Regions from separate parts of the Homo sapiens genome. Here regions 1, 3, 4 and 5 are each linked to region 2. The links are contacts of gene promoters, found by promoter capture Hi-C in blood cells and fetal thymus (Javierre and others, 2016). All regions are on one chromosome and are shown on one strand. Each heading gives the region's core, a stretch centred on a gene start or on the middle of the fragment in contact. The rest is flanking DNA. Distances are from core to core; before and after follow the strand shown. Region 1 holds the start of C17orf107 (chromosome 17 open reading frame 107). Region 2 holds the start of GGT6 (gamma-glutamyltransferase 6). Region 3 overlaps MINK1 (misshapen like kinase 1). Region 4 overlaps ANKFY1 (ankyrin repeat and FYVE domain containing 1). Region 5 overlaps ANKFY1 (ankyrin repeat and FYVE domain containing 1).

Evidence for each region. The method cuts DNA at HindIII sites, captures the fragments that hold promoters and counts their contacts. A CHiCAGO score of 5 or more calls a contact.
Region 1: the fragment with the promoter of C17orf107 here is called in contact with the fragment with the promoter of GGT6 in region 2 in 4 of 17 cell types (neutrophils, M0 macrophages, erythroblasts and 1 more); the score reaches 13.6 in neutrophils.
Region 3: a contact is called between a fragment that was not itself captured here and the fragment with the promoter of GGT6 in region 2, in 3 of 17 cell types (M2 macrophages, M1 macrophages and M0 macrophages). The highest score is 6.4, in M2 macrophages.
Region 4: a fragment that was not itself captured here is called in contact with the fragment with the promoter of GGT6 in region 2 in 1 of 17 cell types (M2 macrophages); the score reaches 5.1 in M2 macrophages.
Region 5: a fragment that was not itself captured here is called in contact with the fragment with the promoter of GGT6 in region 2 in 1 of 17 cell types (M2 macrophages); the score reaches 5.4 in M2 macrophages.

The regions. Positions count from the first base shown.
Region 1 is chr17:4,898,286-4,900,785 of GRCh38, reverse strand. C17orf107 (chromosome 17 open reading frame 107) reads right to left here and starts at 1,250. Exons shown (of 3, transcript NM_001145536.2): 1 at 958-1,250; 2 at 641-850; 3 at 1-549. The coding sequence starts at 1,023. The coding sequence ends at 253. CHRNE (cholinergic receptor nicotinic epsilon subunit) reads left to right here. Exons shown (of 12, transcript NM_000080.4): 9 at 1,204-1,318; 10 at 1,402-1,588; 11 at 1,679-1,785; 12 at 1,895-2,500. The coding sequence ends at 2,050. RefSeq lists an enhancer at 864-1,173 and silencers at 1,374-1,483, 1,504-1,653. The HindIII fragment of the contact is 47,734 bases long and covers 1-2,500 here.
Region 2 is chr17:4,558,203-4,561,904 of GRCh38, reverse strand. It overlaps GGT6 (gamma-glutamyltransferase 6), which reads left to right and starts at 1,328. Exons shown (of 4, transcript NM_001288702.2): 1 at 1,328-1,523; 2 at 2,145-2,347; 3 at 2,449-2,562; 4 at 2,848-3,702. The coding sequence starts at 1,384. The HindIII fragment of the contact is 2,996 bases long and covers 1-1,441 here.
Region 3 is chr17:4,841,838-4,845,530 of GRCh38, reverse strand. All of the region lies in intron 1 of MINK1 (misshapen like kinase 1), which reads right to left. Among named protein-coding and RNA genes, the nearest start is that of MINK1, 10 kb to the right of the region's middle. The HindIII fragment of the contact is 1,108 bases long and covers 1,774-2,881 here.
Region 4 is chr17:4,249,232-4,252,672 of GRCh38, reverse strand. The region is part of intron 1 of ANKFY1 (ankyrin repeat and FYVE domain containing 1); the gene reads left to right. Among named protein-coding and RNA genes, the nearest start is that of ANKFY1, 13 kb to the left of the region's middle. The HindIII fragment of the contact is 3,051 bases long and covers 1-2,963 here.
Region 5 is chr17:4,217,418-4,221,346 of GRCh38, reverse strand. The region is part of intron 3 of ANKFY1 (ankyrin repeat and FYVE domain containing 1); the gene reads left to right. Among named protein-coding and RNA genes, the nearest start is that of ANKFY1, 45 kb to the left of the region's middle. The HindIII fragment of the contact is 3,847 bases long and covers 708-3,929 here.

The DNA of each region.
Region 1 (2,500 bases), core at 1-2,500, 340 kb before region 2:
CGGAGCCCCCGCGGGGGTGTGGCCAGTGTGAAGGGTGGGGGCGTGGCCAAAACCCAGAGACCCCGGGAAAAGCTCTGGCTGTCTCGCCCCGCCCTGGGCTTTATTCGGACGCTGGGTGGGGCTGGTACGGGGATGGAGTCCCTGGTCCGCCGTCCTCCTCACTGCTGCTGGACGTCACCTGGAGGTCTCCCGAGTAGCTCTCTTGGGGGACAGTCCGGCTCAGTGCCTCCCTAGCCCCGCCGCCTCTGGCCCCTAACTCACCCCGTGTCCTGAGCTCACCGGTTCTCCGGGGATTCCGAGGCCTAGCTGCTGTTGCGACTGTCGCAGGAATGAGGCAGACCCCTGCAGACCCCGTCCACACAGGCATAGCCATGCTCCCTGGACTAGGAGCCGGGCGCTGGCGCCCACCGCAGCCCCAGCTTGCCGAACCCCCTGCCCTGCGGCTTGGGCTACCCGGCTCAGCGCTGCACCCGGATCCCTGCCGTCTGGGGCTGGGCCCGCGCTGCCGTCTAGTCGCCGCGCCTCCTGCTGCAGCCACAGGGCTGAGATCTGCATTGGGGGCACAGGGGTTAGCGGGGAGGCAGAGGTCCTTGTTCCCGCTACCCGATCGCCGCGTATCCTAAGCCCCCCAGTACCCCACCTCTAACAAGGTGGTGCCGAAGCTCACGAGGCTGGCTGTGGCTTCTCTCAACACCAGCCCCAGGGTGGGCTTCGGGGCAGGCAGCATCCCCTGCATCTTCGGTTCGGGTGGCTCCAGGGACTTCAGCTCTCTGAACCTCTGCTCCAGATATTCATGGGCTGCGGCCACGGAGAGTTCCAGGGAAGACAGAAGCGGGGGCTGGAGGGCCACCTGGAGAAGGAGCAGAGCAGTAGAGTAGCAGGGCAGGGGTCACAGGGGCGAACAGGAGACCTACCCAGAAGGTCTCGAGGTGCAGCCCTTGGCGGGCGTAGCCTCACCTCGGTGGAGCTGTGGAAGTGGTAGATCCACATCAGGGTGTCCAGGGAGCTGGGGGTCCCCTTCATGGCCGCCACAAGTGGTAGGACAGGAGAAGGGCTGGGGGACGCGTCTGTCGTCGTGTAGGGGGCGCAGCTGGAGGGCGTAACCAGCCCGTACCAGGAGAAGCCGTGTTTGTGAGGTCAGCGCGCGGCGCCTTCGGTAGCTGGGAGGAGGAACGGTGATGTCATGCCTTCCGGGCTCCTCAGGTTCCTTATTTTCGTCATGGTGGTCGCCACGCTCATTGTCATGAATTGCGTCATCGTGCTCAACGTGTCCCAGCGGACGCCCACCACCCACGCCATGTCCCCGCGGCTGCGCCACGTAAGCGCGGAGGGGGCGGTGCAGCCCGGGTCGGGGTGGGGCTTCGTACTAACCTCGTCCCCTAAGCCCCGCCCCTGCCCCAGGTTCTCCTGGAGCTGCTGCCGCGCCTCCTGGGCTCCCCGCCGCCGCCCGAGGCCCCCCGGGCCGCCTCGCCCCCAAGGCGGGCGTCGTCGGTGGGCTTATTGCTCCGCGCGGAGGAGCTGATACTGAAAAAGCCACGGAGCGAGCTCGTGTTTGAGGGGCAGAGGCACCGGCAGGGGACCTGGACGGGTGAGCACAGTGGCCCTGGCCCGGGGGGCCGCGCGGGGTGCCTGCCAGGGGGGAGGCTCCTAAGGCCCACCCCGGTGTTTTCCCCGCCAGCTGCCTTCTGCCAGAGCCTGGGCGCCGCCGCCCCCGAGGTCCGCTGCTGTGTGGATGCCGTGAACTTCGTGGCCGAGAGCACGAGAGATCAGGAGGCCACCGGCGAGGTGGGACAGGAGCCAGAGGCGGGTGGAGCGAGGCAGAGGCCCACCACTGTCTCCCATGCCGCTGGCTCCTGCAGCTGCCTCTTTACTGACTGTGCCGACCCTTCCCCAGGAAGTGTCCGACTGGGTGCGCATGGGGAATGCCCTTGACAACATCTGCTTCTGGGCCGCTCTGGTGCTCTTCAGCGTGGGCTCCAGCCTCATCTTCCTCGGGGCCTACTTCAACCGAGTGCCTGATCTCCCCTACGCGCCGTGTATCCAGCCTTAGCTCGCACCGACTTCAATTTCCCACCCATCTCCAGTAGGAAATTGATTTTGAAAAAGTAGGCTGCCGCCACCACGGCATTATGATCCCTTCCCCCTGCTGATCAATCTGCAGTTTGTGAACTTCACAAGAATGGTGTGTGCCCGTTCCCTGGCGTGTGTAGGCCTGGCCGCAGTCCAGGGGTCAGCAGGAGGAAAGGGTTCACATAGGCTCTCAGGTGCCAGTCTTCCAGAAAGCAAGGACTGCCCTTCATTCAGCCTTGCTGACCTCCCAGCCTTTCTAAGGCTCAGCCCCACGGGACTCTGGTGGCTGCCAGCTTGTGAGCTATCTATCTATATTCATTTCATAGCCAAACAGGAGACCCCTTTGCAGGACTTGCACACAGGGAGGCTGTAGCCAGGAAACCCTCTTCTTCCCTGGTCTGGCTCTGCTGGAGCGGGTGGGAACCAAACA
Region 2 (3,702 bases), core at 79-2,578:
CTCAATGCATTTTCACACCCAGGGCACTCGTGTCACCAACACTCAGATTAAGAAACAACATCTCGGCCGGGCGCGGTGGCTCACACCCGTAATCCTAGTACTTTTGGGAGGCTGAGGCGGGCGGATCACCTGAGGTCAAGAGTTCAAGACCAGGCTGGCCAACATGGTGAAACCCTGTCTCTACTAAAAATACAAAAAATTAGCCAGGCGTGGTGGCATGTGCCTGTAATCCCAGCTACTCGGGAGGCTGAGGCAGAAGAATTGCTTGAACCCAGGAGGTGGAAGTTGCAGTGAGCTGAGATTGCACCATTGCACTCCAGCCTGGGCAACAAGAATGAAAACTCTGTCAAGAAAGAAAGAAGAGAAAGAAAAGAAAGGTAAAGGAAAAAGGAAAGGAAAGAAAGGAAGGAAAGAAAGGACATCTCCAGCATTCCAGAAACCCCCTGGTACCTCCTCCAGTCACTATCTGACTTCTAAGGGCAGACTGTTGTTGCTCTTTTGTTGTTGCCTGTTTGTGTACTTTGTGTAAATGAAAGCATATAGCGTGCGCTGTCTCCTGCCTGGCTGCTTTCCCTCGTCCTTATGCTTGTCAGACCTGTGTATATTATTGCATATAATTGTAGATCACTCACTCTCTTTGCTGCAGAGTGGTCCATTGTGACTTACATCATTCATTCTAACGATAATGGATGTTTGGGCACTTTCCAATTTGGGACTGTTACAAACAGCACTGTTTTGCAACAAGTCCTTGATGGGAATCCCAGAATGAATTTAGAAATGTTGGTTTCCAGGCTGTGGCGCTACCTTCTGGACAAGAGTCGCAAAACACGCACAGGGAGTTACGAACCAAGTTGCTCCTCAAAGAAACCCAGACCCAGAGTAGCCACAGGCTGAGCCTTGACCCCGGCCAGAGACCAGACACCCCTACGCCAGAACCTAGTCACGTGCAGACTCAAGCACGTGGGAGCTCTGACCCAAGCCACCGTGAAACCGTAGCTCTAATTCAAGTCCACAGTCCCTAGAGTCCCAGGTGGGTGGGATCCATGGGCTACATCCCCCAAGGGGAGGAGCCCAGCAGGTGCCCTGAGTATCAAGGTTGTGGCATTAAGGCTGAACTCCTTCTCGACCTCACTGAGCTGTGGCCCCTTACAGGCAGTCACCCCGGGAACCCTGTCGCGAGAGCTCCTCGGGCCTTGTGTCCTAATGGGGCAGGCTCACATGCAGCCTCCTTGGCCCCGTGCCCTGCCCAGACCTGTTCTGGATTCCACCCCCACCCTTCCCCAAGGTCGCTGCCACCTCCCACCTGCCAGGCTTGGGCAGGGCCTCTGAGACACAGCCGGAAAGGCTGGCAGGCAGGAGGGCTGGGGCGAGCACTGGGGGGCCATGGAGCGGGCAGAAGAGCCCGTGGTCTATCAGAAGCTGCTGCCCTGGGAGCCAAGCTTGGAGTCGGAGGAGGAAGTGGAGGAGGAGGAGACATCAGAGGCGCTGGTTCTAAACCCCCGGAGGCACCAGGACTCTTCCAGGTAAGTAAGGGAGGGGTCTGGGCACCAGGCTCCCCAGGCTTGAGGTTGGCAAGTCCCTCTCTCTGGAGCCCCTCAGGGGGACCAGGCGACTCCCCGCTGGGTTTAGCTCCAGGCACTGTACGGTCAATTTGGGGGAAAACCCAGGCTGTAGCCCGAGACTTGGCCTGACCCAATCAAAAGTCTGTGCATCTGGAGGGACATTTGTACCAAGCCAGCCTCTGTCCCATCTGCTGCTTTGTCAAAGGTCCCCAGCCCCCAAGTCCTGGTGCAGGAGGCACCTGCTGGGCAGGTTGGGGCCTGACTACGCCTGGCTGGGCCTGCTCCCCAGCCCCTTCTCTCCTGCCTGCCACACCCCACTGGGCCTCCCTCCCACCTGAGTGGACTCTGCCCCACCAATCTCCCCTCCAGAGGCTCCCTCCCTAGCTAGGCTCAGTTTCCCCAGATGCTTTCCCATCCCCATGTCTGCCCAAGATGCACCCGCTGCCAAGAAGCCCTTTCTCCTTGGCTGACTTGTGCTCCTCTTGCTAAATCAAACCTTTTGGGAAATATTCCCTGGGGTCTCTTGGGGTCCTTGGGCATCCCTCTGTCCCAGCCGTGGCTCAGGACACCCCCCCTCTGCAGGAACAAGGCTGGCGGGCTGCCCGGAACCTGGGCCCGTGTAGTGGCAGCCCTGCTGCTGCTGGCTGTTGGCTGCTCCCTGGCTGTGAGGCAGCTCCAGAATCAGGGCAGGTCGACAGGAAGCTTGGGCTCTGTGGCCCCTCCACCCGGCGGACACTCCCACGGCCCTGGCGTATACCACCACGGTGCCATCATCAGCCCTGCAGGTCAGTCAGTGCTGGGGGCGGCTTGGGGAGGGGAGGGTCAGGGGTCACCAGCCCAGCCTAGCCCCCCTCCTTGCTGCATGACAGTGCCTTCCTTGCTGCAGCCACATGCTCCCACCTAGGCCGAGAGCTGCTTGTTGCCGGGGGCAACGTCGTGGATGCTGGAGTTGGAGCTGCATTGTGCCTGGCAGTGGTGCATCCTCATGCCACGGGGCTAGGTCAGTGACCCCTGACCCCAGACTGCAACCCCAACCCACAGCCTGATCAGTGACCTGGAACTTAGGGAGTCAGTAGCACTGACCTCAAGACTGCTAAGTGAGCAGGACTTAGGGTTTGGGCAGCAGTCCAACCCCAGGCTATGACCCTTGAGCCCGGGTCTGTGGAACTTTGACCTCAGGCCTGGTCAGTAACTCCTGATCCCAGGCTCAGTCAAGGGATCTTGACTGAAACAAGTCAGTGACCCTTGACCTGCGGCTGCTGAGGGACCCCTCTGTCTCCTGCAGGTGCCATGTTTTGGGGCCTCTTCCACGATAGCTCCTCAGGCAATTCCACGGCCCTGACATCAGGCCCAGCACAGACCCTGGCCCCCGGCCTGGGGCTGCCCGCGGCTCTGCCCACCCTGCACCTGCTGCATGCACGCTTCGGCCGCCTGCCCTGGCCACGCCTGCTAGTGGGCCCCACCACGCTGGCTCAGGAGGGCTTCCTGGTGGACACACCCCTGGCAAGGGCTCTGGTGGCTCGGGGCACAGAAGGCCTCTGTCCACTACTTTGCCATGCTGATGGGACACCCCTGGGCGCTGGGGCCCGAGCCACCAACCCACAACTGGCAGCTGTGCTTCGCAGCGCAGCCCTCGCTCCCACCTCAGACCTTGCTGGGGATGCTCTACTGAGTCTACTGGCGGGAGACCTGGGGGTGGAGGTGCCCTCGGCTGTGCCCAGGCCCACTTTGGAACCAGCAGAGCAGCTACCTGTGCCCCAGGGCATCCTGTTCACCACCCCCAGTCCCTCAGCTGGCCCAGAACTGCTGGCACTGTTGGAGGCAGCCCTGCGCTCCGGGGCGCCCATCCCTGACCCCTGCCCACCGTTCCTGCAGACTGCTGTGAGCCCCGAGAGCAGTGCCCTGGCCGCCGTGGACAGCAGCGGCTCTGTGCTCCTTCTCACCTCCTCGCTCAACTGCTCCTTTGGCTCTGCACACCTGTCCCCAAGCACTGGGGTTCTGCTCAGCAACCTGGTGGCCAAGTCTACCACTAGTGCCTGGGCCTGCCCCCTCATCCTCCGTGGCAGCCTGGATGACACAGAGGCTGATGTGTTGGGGCTTGTGGCTTCAGGGACCCCTGATGTGGCCAGGGCCATGACTC
Region 3 (3,693 bases), core at 1,078-3,577, 280 kb before region 2:
GTTGACCGCCCTTTAACACATGTACCCCTCACATACTAATACAGAAATGCTGTTACATTCTATGATCTTCATCCCCTAAACGACCTTATTTCCAACTTCCTCTAGCACCTACCCATCAGACCCCCAGGATGAGATGAAGTAAGAGGCTGAAAACAAGCAAGATGACGAACATGAGCATAGCAGAACCAGAACGCAAGTCATGGCTGGGGGGTGGCAAAAGGAACTGAATACGGAACAGAAACCCTTAACTTCTCTTGCTGCTGCCCAATCCTCTTGTGATTCCAGACAGCCATTTCATTTAAAATCCCTTTCAGAAGCCTGTCATCTTGCATTAGAGCTGGGAGGGGGGTTGTGTTCTGGGTTGGCTGATGATACATGGACTTCTGAGACATGCACCTAGGCGGACTCAACAAATATTAAACATCTGCTCGGTCAGACCCTCTGCTCAACTCTGCACACACAAAAGACAATGAGATGCAGAATGGTGGGTGCCAGGGGCTGGAAGGTGGAGGGTTCAGAGAGTCAGTGTTTAATGGGTACAGAGCTTCATTTGGGGAGGATGAAGAAGTTCTGGAGATGGATAGTGGTTACAGTTGCACAACAATGTGAATGCACTTAATGCCACAGAAGTGTACGCTGAAAAATGGTTATAATGGTAAGTCTTACATATACTTAATCACATTAAAAAACAACAACAACACATTTTTAAAGGGTGGGGGGAAATGAGACAGCCTTCCTCTCCTCCCTCTGAAGAGGCTTTCTTTTGAATTATTCGACTATCTTTCCTGCAGACCAAATATTCTGAAGTCTTCTGCATGTCCTCTTCATCATCACAGTGATCTACCCAGCGGCCCTACATTTAGAAATCTCTATTAGTTCTGGGTACGAGCCCCGTGGAGCTCTGTATTCCCAACATGTGCTCCCCAGTGCCAACCCACCACCTGTTCAGCTCAGGCTGAGGTCACTCACTCTCCCCACCTCAAAAAGACCCAGGTATACGAATAAAAGGTGTCCTCTATTAAGACACAGATCTAGAGGCCAAGTGCTCCTGGAGGGCAGTAACTATCTCTCATACAGACTGTCTCCAGCCCATGAAACAGGCCATATTCCAAAAGTCTCCAAAAACTTTACCAAGAAACGTTATGGATAATGTTTTAGTCCTCAGTAAGCCCACAAAGCCTGTTTACCATAAGTCACAGAAATATCACACATTTACAATTAAAACAGGCAGGCCGGGCACGGTGGCTCACATTTGTAATCCCAGCACTTTGGGAGGCCGAGGTGGGTGGATCACCTGAGGTCAGGAGTTCGAGACCAGCCTGACCAACATGGTGAAACCCTGTCTCTACTAAAAATACAAAAATTAGCCAGGTGTGGTGGTGCGCACCTGTAATCCCAGCTACTCGGGAGGCTGAGACAGGAGGATCTTGAACCTGGGAGGTGGAGGTTGCAGTGAGCCTAGATCGCACCACTGTACTTCAGCCTGGGCAACAGAGCAAGAGTTCATCTCAAAAAAAGCAAAAAGAAACCAAAAAACAGGCAGAAAACAATACCAGTTGCATGTAGTCTAGAGTGCCAGCTACACACTGCCCTCCTGTCCTCCCCTCAGTGCCCACCCCCAAATACCCACCGCCACGTGGGAGCAGGTCTCCCTCCAACAGCATGGCAGCCCAGGTTTTGGAGTCAGACTTGAGTCTGAATGTGGGCTCTGCTGCTTACTGGCTGTCCAACCTCAGGCAAGTTACTTAACTTCCAAGTTAATTTCTGTAAGCTTTGGTTTCTTCATCTTGCAAATGAGGATAATATTGTCCACCTCAAAGGGTTCTTGTGAGGGACAATGAGATTACAGAAGGAAAGAACCTACTGCACAGTAAGTGTTCATTACGGTTCTTATTCCAACCCCAAACACCCCCTTCTGAAATGAATCTGCATCATAATATAAATGACTTTATCACAGCAATCTTTGTTCCAAACAGAAGACAGACAGAAAAAGGACTTACTAGAACCAACCAACTTCCTTTTTTTTCTTTTTCTTTTTCTTTCTTTTTTTTTTGTGACGGAGTCTCGTTCTGTCGCCCAGGCTGGAGTGCAGTGACGCAATCTAGGCTCACTGCAACCTCCGCCTCCTGAGTTCAAGCGATTCTCCTGCCTCACCCTCCCCAGTAGCTGGGATTACAGGTGCCTCCCACCATGCCTGGCTAATTTTTTGTATTTTTAGTAGAGACAGGGTTTCACTATGTTGGCCAGGCTGGTCTCGAACTCCTGACCTCAAGTAATCTGCCTGCCTCAGCCTCCCAAAGTGCTGGGATTACAGGCATGAGCCACTGCGCCCAGCCCAAACCAACTTCTGATCCACATCCTGCCTGTTCCCCCTACCCTGCTTCGACACGTGGGGCTCAGGTAGTTTCCACTGTGAGGAATGACCTTGTTAAGGTTAGGCGGACTCTCTCCACCTCCTCCAAACCTTAGCTACCCAAGGCCAGGAGCCTACCAAGTTCTGCTCTCTTGACTGGGACTGGGAAACAGCGAGCTGTGGAAGGCAGCTCTGCACAGCTCCAGCTCATCCCGCTCAGCTGTGCTGCTTCCCAGCCACTGGTCCACCCTGAAAGGATACACTAGGGCAAGGTGTCTTCTACTGTCTCTGGTCACTCCCCCAGATGTAAGTAATGACATTCATTCACCACACCTCTGTCTTCAAAAAGACAAGTGTAGGATGAAAAGACCCCAGAGAAGAGACGATGTGCTGGCCCCTCTCTAAGACGCCACATGCACCTGCCTATCTTTGCCTCACGCTGCTTAGGCTTTGGGGCACTCTGTCCAACTGTTTTCTTGAAGACTCTTTCCTGAGTCACTTAGAACTAAAGACTAAGTATTGCAAGCTTCAGCCACTTTCTTAAAAATGTGCCTTGAAAGAAAGAGTGGGTGGGTGGTGAAAAGAGAACATGAAAATCTTCCTTACAGTCTGGCTGGGAGCCTACCTATTTTACCTCCAGAGGTATGCTAGCAGACAAAAGCTGCTAGATATGTGCCATGCACAAGGGTAATTTAGAGCCCACATTCCTCTCTCTACCTGGAAAGAAGTACACAGGGGACTTAGGAACTACTTCCTACTTCATGGAAGAAACCTGTCCAGTCCCTCCCCGGGTCTCTCCCATGTCCATAACAAGTTCATGAGAGGTACCAGTGGCAATACGGGTGGAAAAACAGTTCTTCGATGCACTGTCCCAGACTCTGCCAGATGGTTAACATCCCCAATCCCCATGTGCTAAATGCCGTTAGTGCTCCCAAGGCAGTTTTTTTTTTTTTTTGGACAGAGTCTCGCTCTGTCGCCCAGGCTGGAGTGCAGTGGCGTGGTCTAGGCTCACTACAAGCTCCGCCTCCCGGGTTCATGCCATTCTCCTGCCTCAGCCTCCCAAGTAGCTGGGACTACAGGCGCCCACCACCGCGCCCGGCTAATTTTTTTTTGTATTTTTAGTAGAGACGGGGTTTCACCGTGTTAGCCAGGATGGTCTCGATCTCCTGACCTCGTGATCCGCCCGCCTCGGCCTCCCAAAGTGCTGGGATTACAGGCGTGAGCCACCGTGCCCGGTGCTCCCAAGACAGTTAATCCTCCCTCCTCAGCATTTCCGAACACCCCCTGGAGGCCAGCGGTGCCCTGGCTGAGAACCAGAGTCAGCACCTGTACTGCTTTGT
Region 4 (3,441 bases), core at 189-2,688, 310 kb after region 2:
AGCTTTATAAGAAACCATCAAACTGTTTTCCAGAATGGTTATGCCATTTTGCATTTCCATTAGCAATGTATCAGGCTTCTAGCTTCTAGTTCTCCAATTTTTTTTTTGTTTGTTTGTTTTTTGTTACCCAGGCTGGGGTGCAGTGGTATGATCATAGCTCACTGCAGCCTCGAACTCCTGGGCTCAAGCAGTCCTTCCATCTCAGCCTCTCAAGTGGCTAGGACTGCAGGTGCACACCACCACACTTGGCTAATTTTTAAAATTTTTTTGTGGAGACGGGGGTCTCACTCTGTTGCCCAGCTGTTCTCAAACTCCTAGCTTCAAGCTGTTCTCCCGCCTCAGCCTTCCAAACTTTTGGGATTATAGGTGTGAACCACTGCGCTTGGCCTAGTTCTCCAGATCTTTGCCATAACTTTTTAATTTTAGCCATACTAGTAGGTGTGTAGTGGTATTTCATTGTGATTTCAATTTGCATCTTAATTACTAATGATGCACATCTTTTCATGTGCTTATTTACTGTACATTTATCTTGTTTGGTGAACTCTCCAGTTTTTTTGCTCTTTTTTATCGGGTTGTCTTATTGAGCTGTAAGAGTTCTTAATATAATCTGTATACAAGTCTTTTTTTTTTTTTTTTTTTAAGACGGAGTCTCGTTCTGTTGCCCAGGGTTGAGTGCAGTGGTATGATCTCAGCTCACTGCAACCTCTGTCTCCCGGATTCAAGTGATTCCCCTGCCTCATCCTCCCTAGTAGCTGGGACTACAGGCGCACGCCACTGCACCCAGCTAATTTTTGTGTTTTTGTAGAGACGGGGTTTTGCCATGTTGGCCAGGCTGGTCTCAAACTCCTGACCTCAAGTGATCCATCCACCTTGGCCTCCCAAAGTGCTGGGATTACAGGCTGGGAATGAGGCGTTTTTTGTTGGATGTTTTGCACATATTTTCTCCCAGTCTGTGGCTTGCCTTTTTATTTTTTTATGACTTTTCAAGAACAGTTTTTAAAATTTGGTAAAGTCAAATTTAGCCATGTTTCTTCTGTAATTTTTTTTTAACAGTTTATCTTTGTTTAATCTGAGGTCACTAAGATTTTTGCTATGTTTTAGTCTGGAAGTTCTGTAGTTTTTGTTTTTTTTTTTTTTAATTTTTATTTAATTTTTAAAAATTTTACCTGTCAATGATTTGAAGCTCATTTTTAAAAATTGTTTTCTTTTTGTTTTTGTTTTTAAAGAGACAGGAAGATGGGGTTTCCCAGGCTGGAGTGCAGTGGCTATTCACAGATGTGATCATAGTGCTTTATAGCCTCAAACTCCTGAGCTCAAGTGATCCTTCCTCCCCAGCCTCCTGAGTAGCTGGGACTTCATCTGACTCTAGAAGGGCTACAGTTTTAACCCTTACGTTTAGATATGTGATTTTGAGTTAGTTTTTATATGTAGTGGTGTCTAGGAATAGGGATTTGCGTTTTCATATGGATCTCCAATTGTTCTGGTCCCATTGTTCTTTCCTCATTGAAATGCCTTCACACCATTGTCAGATCATTTGTATAAGTCAAAGTCTATTCCTGGATTCTGTTATTTTCCATTGCTCTGGATATCTATCTTGATGCCAGTTTGATGCTGTCCTATTTACTGTAGCTTTATACACAGCCTTGAGTCAGGTAAATGCTAAACCTTTTTCTTTCCCCTGCCCAGAATTTTTTTGGCTATTCTAGGAACTTTGCATTTCCACCCAAATTTTAGAATCAGCTGTCTGTGGTTATGCATGCATGTAATCCCAGCAGTTTAAAAGACCAAAGTGGGAGGATCCCTTGAGGCCAGGAGTTCAAGACCAGCTTGGGCGCCATACTGAGACCCTGTCTCTACAAAAAAATTGGCCAGATGTGGTGGTGCTCACCTGTAGTTCTAGCTGTTTGAGCCTAGGAGTTCGAGGCTGCAGTGAGTTATGATCAGGACACTGCACCCCAGCCTGGGTGACAGAGGGAGACCCTGTTTCTAAGAAAAAAAAATTAGAATCATTCTTTCAAATTCTACAAACACAGTTTGCTGGGATTTTTATTGGGAAGGTATTGGATCTATAGACCAATTTGGAGAGACCTGACATCTTAACAATATTGAGCTATTGAGCCTTCCAATCCATGAGCGTAGTATATAACTCTCTGTTTATTTAGGTTGCCTTTCATTTCTGTCAGCAGTGTTTTTATAGTTTCAGTGTGCATGCATTGCACATTTTGTTAAGTTTATCTCTAAATATTTTGTATGTTTGGTATACTATTAAAAATGCATTATCATAGCCCGTACATTGGTAACCTAGAGCTTTGATAACATGAAATGAAGTAGGAAGAAGACTTTGATTTGAGGAAGATATGAAGTTTGATTTTGGACTTGTCGAGTTTATAGTAGCAGTCAGTCATTCTTTCAGCAGGAGCTGTTGAAGGAAAGAGAGATTTGGGTCCATTTTTATAGCAGTGACAGTAAAGTATGGGTATGCATGAGACCATGTTCAGGGAAGAAAATTTAGAAAAAGTTCAGATGTAGGTCTGCACCTTGCAGCACTGTGCCGTTTTAGAAAGTGGGTAGTCAGAATAGGAGGTGAAGGGTCTGTAACAAGGTTAGGAAGAAAGCTAGAGTACAGAGTTAGGAAGCCAAAACAAGAGTTTTAAGAATGGGGTGGTTGAGAGTCGGAGGCTACAGAGAGGTTGAGGAGCTTGAAGAATAAGGAAAAGGTCATCAAAGTGGGTGATTTGATCATTGTGACTATTTAGTAGAGTGATGTGGGTTGAAGCCAAGTTTCAGAAGGTTAGGGAGGTAAGGCAGGAAGTAGTGACCAAAGAGGACTCTTAAGAAATGGGTGGAGAAGGCAAAGTGTATGATAGACTGCGCAGTCAAGAGCATAACTGTGGAGAAGAGATGTTTGTCTAGGGGTGGGAGGCATTACTGTGAGCCTGTTTCTGAGGGTGAGGAGGTAAGCTTGGAGACAGGCATATCTTGAAGATGCAGTGGCTGCTGTTGTGGATTAGAGTTTGGTAAGAAGTGAGAGGTTACAGAATTCTAGGTGTTCCAGATAGATAAACTGCTTTCTTCCCTTTTCATTTGGCTCTGGCTGTCATTTTAACGTTCTAATTCTTTAAAATCACCAGCAGGGGGACAGGGCTTGTATGGCCTCTCAGCCAAATCTGACCTGAGACCTGTCGACTTGTTTTTATGCAGTCCTTAAGCTAAGAATTTATTTATATGTTATAGATGTAACATATAAAAATAACTTATAAATATTAACTATATTTTAAATATTTTAACCTGGTTGAAGAAAAATCAAAACAATGTATCATGATGTGAAAATTATATGAAATTCCATTTTCAGTGTTCATAAATAAAGTATTTTTAGGGAAACAGCCACATTCATTAATTTGTACTTTTGTGTTCCAACTGGCAGAGTTGAGTAGTGCCCCA
Region 5 (3,929 bases), core at 1,382-3,881, 340 kb after region 2:
CCGTTTACTCGGCAGGCTCAGGTGGGAGAATTGATTGAGCCTGGGAGGTCGAGGCTGTAGTAAGCTGTGATTGCACCATTGTACTCCAGCCTGGGCAACAGTGGCTCTGTCCCTAAATAAATAAAGTAAAAAACAAAGTCAGTTTACTCAGTATGTTTCATTTAATGGTTAATTGCATACAGATCAGTTTATTCCCATCCATTTCAGATGTCTTGGAAAACATTTATTTAAAATTCAAACCAAAACAAAAAACTAGGCCACATAGAAAATCCTAAAGTCTCCAAAGTGTATTTACATGCATCCTGGCCTGCAGTGAAACGAAGTCAGAAGTTTCAGTGTTATTTTACTTTTCATCCTTGAAGTCAGAGATTTTTCTGGCTTGCATGCAGGGCCTTCTGAGAGATGATTACCTCCCTCACGCAGGACTCGGAGGCCAACTGCTTTCTCTTCTGAGTCTACTCCTTTTAGAGAGAACTCGTGCTTTATGCAGTCATCTGACTTTTACAACCACTTGCTTAAGTAGATTGGAAGCAGACAGTGTGGACGATTTACCCACAAGTACCCAGTTGCAGCACACACTGTCCTTCCTGATCCTTGTTCTCTGCCTACCCTTATACCACTGGCTGCTTCGTCTGAGTCACAAAGTGAATTTATTCTCAGTGTATTTTGTAGATGAGGGGAAGAGTCACGGCAGGAGTGGGAAAGCTTGTAAATCACTTGAACCTCATTTTGTTTGAAATATCAAGCCCTCCCAGGAAATCCCTACTGAAAGTAGTTTAAAAAAGTTTTTTGATAATCTAGGTTTTTGTTTATTACTTGTACAGGTCAAGATTAACCGGGCAAGTTTGCAAATAGTATTTAAGAAACTGCTACTGTAGGGAAGGTGTTTGAGGGTGTTGGTGCTGGGGATTCTCTCAGCAGATAGGAACGAGCTGTCTTCAAGATCAGGCCATGTGAGTCTAGTAGGATGTGTTTTGGGATTTTTGGTTGCTGTGGACAAATCACATGGCCTACATTTTTTTTGTTGTTCATTACGATGACTACTGAGGTATTGAACCCAATTTACAAAGCCTGCTTAGAAATTTGGCCTACTTCCAAGATCTACTATGGTGATCTTAGACAGCTTAGCTGAAGCACCTAGGTTGTTTAAATAAATCTAATTAGTTTTCTGTCTGGTGTTAAAATGTTTTCTCTTTTAAAACATTTTAAAAGTGCTACTACTGGCCGGGCAGGGTGGCTCACGCCTGTAATCCCAGCACTTTGGGAGGCCGAAGCAGGTGGATCACCTGAGGTTAGGAGTTCAAGACCAGTCTGGCTAACATGGTGAAACCCCATCTCAACTAAAAATACAAAAAAATTAGCTGGGCATGGCAGCAGGCACATGTAATCCCAGCTACGTTGGGAGTCTGAGGCAGGAGAATCTCTTGAACCCGGGAGGCAGAGGTTGCAGTGAGCTCAGATCGCGCCACTGCACTCCAGCCTGGGTGACAAGAGCAAAACTCTGTCTCAAAAAAAAGAAAAGGTGCTATTACTATATTATTCAGTGAGAGAAAAAAGAAAAACTTTAACATAGTAACTACAATATTATCATTTTAGTGTATTTCACTTTTTCTTTTTCTTTTTCTTTTTTTTTTACTTTTAATATCTGGTTGTTTTAGGAGATGGTGAATTAACCTGGTTGCAGGTAAGTCGGGGTCTTCAAGTCCACTCACTTGACATTGCCCCCTTCAAGCTGCTCCTTCCCACTCTAGTTGGAAAGGAGAGTAATCAGAGCTAATGAGCCAATTCCTAATTATGAAGTTAATAAGGTGTTCCTGGTCCTTGTTGCACCTTTCCTAGGTAATCAAGAATCAAGTACGGTTTCTGAAACCTTAGTGAGCATCAGAATCACATAGAGGACTTGTTAGGACATGTGCTGGGCCCCATCTCTGGTTTCTCATTCAGCAGGTCTGGGGTAGGACAGAGAATCAGATTTCCAATCAGTTATCAGATGAGGCTGAATCTCCTGGCCCAGGACAACACCGTGAGAATTACTTGCGTTGACCATGATTTTAAGTATTCCTCTGACCATCACTCTTCTTATTCTGACTAATCAAGAGTTAACTCTGGTTGAAATAATAGTTTAGATATTTTATACTATGATTCTCATCCCAAGCATTTCCCCAAGTTGCTGTACAGTCTTTATTTTAACTTAAAAAGATTGCACAAATAATGCATGTTCCTTAAATAAAAATAAAGCTAAAAGTAAAATTAAGCTAAAAGAAAAATTAGTTATAAATTCCACCTGGGTTGATATTTTAGTATATATCCTTCCAATCTCTTGAGAGACAGACACAGAAAAATGTGTGTCTGCCTCTCTATGTGTGTAGTGTGTAGTGTGTGTAGGTATTATATATATATGTATGCATGCATACACACACAGGTGTATCTTAACAAAAAGCAAGACCTATTTTTTTTTCTTTTTCTTTTTGAGACAGGGTCTTGCTCTGCCACCCATGCTGGAGTGCAGTGGTGCAGTCACGGCTCAGTACTGCCTCAACCTCCCGGCTCAATTTCTCTTCCCACATTGGCCCCTTGAGTAGCTGGGACTACAGACACATGCCGCCACTAATGGCATGTGCCCAGCTAATTTTTATATTTTTTGGTTTTATTTTGTTTAATTTTTTTCTTCTGTAGTTTTTGGGGAACAGGCAGTGTTTGGTTACATGGCTAAGTTCTTTAGTGGTGATTTCTGAGATTTTGGTGTAATTTTTGAATTTTTGTAAAGACAGAGGGTTTCACCATGTTGCTCACACTGGTCTTGAATTCCTGGGCTCAAGCCATCCGCCCACCTTGGCCTCCCAAAGCATTGAGATTACAGGCGTGAGCCACTGTACCCAGCCAATGAGATCTTATACAAGTATTTTTAGCCTACTTTTCAAAAAGCCTATGTAGTAAATATCTTATGTTGAATATATATCTATCTAGTTTTCATTGCATTTGTTCAGTGTGTATGTATATTGTAATTTATTTAATTAGTTCTCCATTGTTGGACTCTTACGATTTTTGTTCTAGTTCTTCATTAATAATATTGTGCTGAGCATCTTAGTACATTTTTCTTTATCTGTCCAGTTATTTTCTTTGGATAATGTCTACATATGTAGTTGCTGTGTGAAAGGTTATGTTCTTTAAAAAATCTTTGCTAGTCTGAGAGATAAAAAAATGTACTCTGATTTCAGTTTGTATTTGGTTATCAGTAAGGTTTACTAGCCATTATTTATCTTTGTGAATTACCTATTTGTATCCATTGCCCATTTTTCCATTGGGTATCCGTCTTTTTATTTTTATTTGTAAGGTCTTTTTATCATAAAGAATGTTAACTCAGGCTGGGTGAAGCGGCTCACGCCTGTAATCCTAATGCTTTAGGAGGCCGAGGCAGTTGGATTCTTTGAGCCCAGGATTTCGAGACCAGCCTGGGCAACATGGTGAAACCGTCTCTGCAAAAAATACAAAAATTAACCTGGTATGCTAGCATGCACCTGCGGTCCCAGCTACTCGGGAGGCTGAGGTGTAAGGACCACTTGAGCCCAGGGAGTTCGAGGCTTCAGTGAGGCATGATTGTGCCACTGCATTCCAGCCTGGGTGACGTAGTGAGACCCTGTCTCAAAAAGAAAAAAAAAATAATGTTAATTCTTTGTCATATGTTTCAAATATTTTCCCCAATTTATTCGACATATCTTTAGTAGGTTTATTTCCTCACTCACTGCCCACTGCGAAAGTTTAGTCAGATGTTGCCCAGACTGCTGAGTCACCTTTTTTTTGAGACGGAGTCTCCCTCTGTCACCCAGGCTGGAGTGCAGTGGCTCAATCTCTGCTCACTGCAACCTCCGTCTCCCGGGTTCAAGCGATTCTCCTGCCTCAGCCCGAGTAGCTGGGATTACAGGTGCACG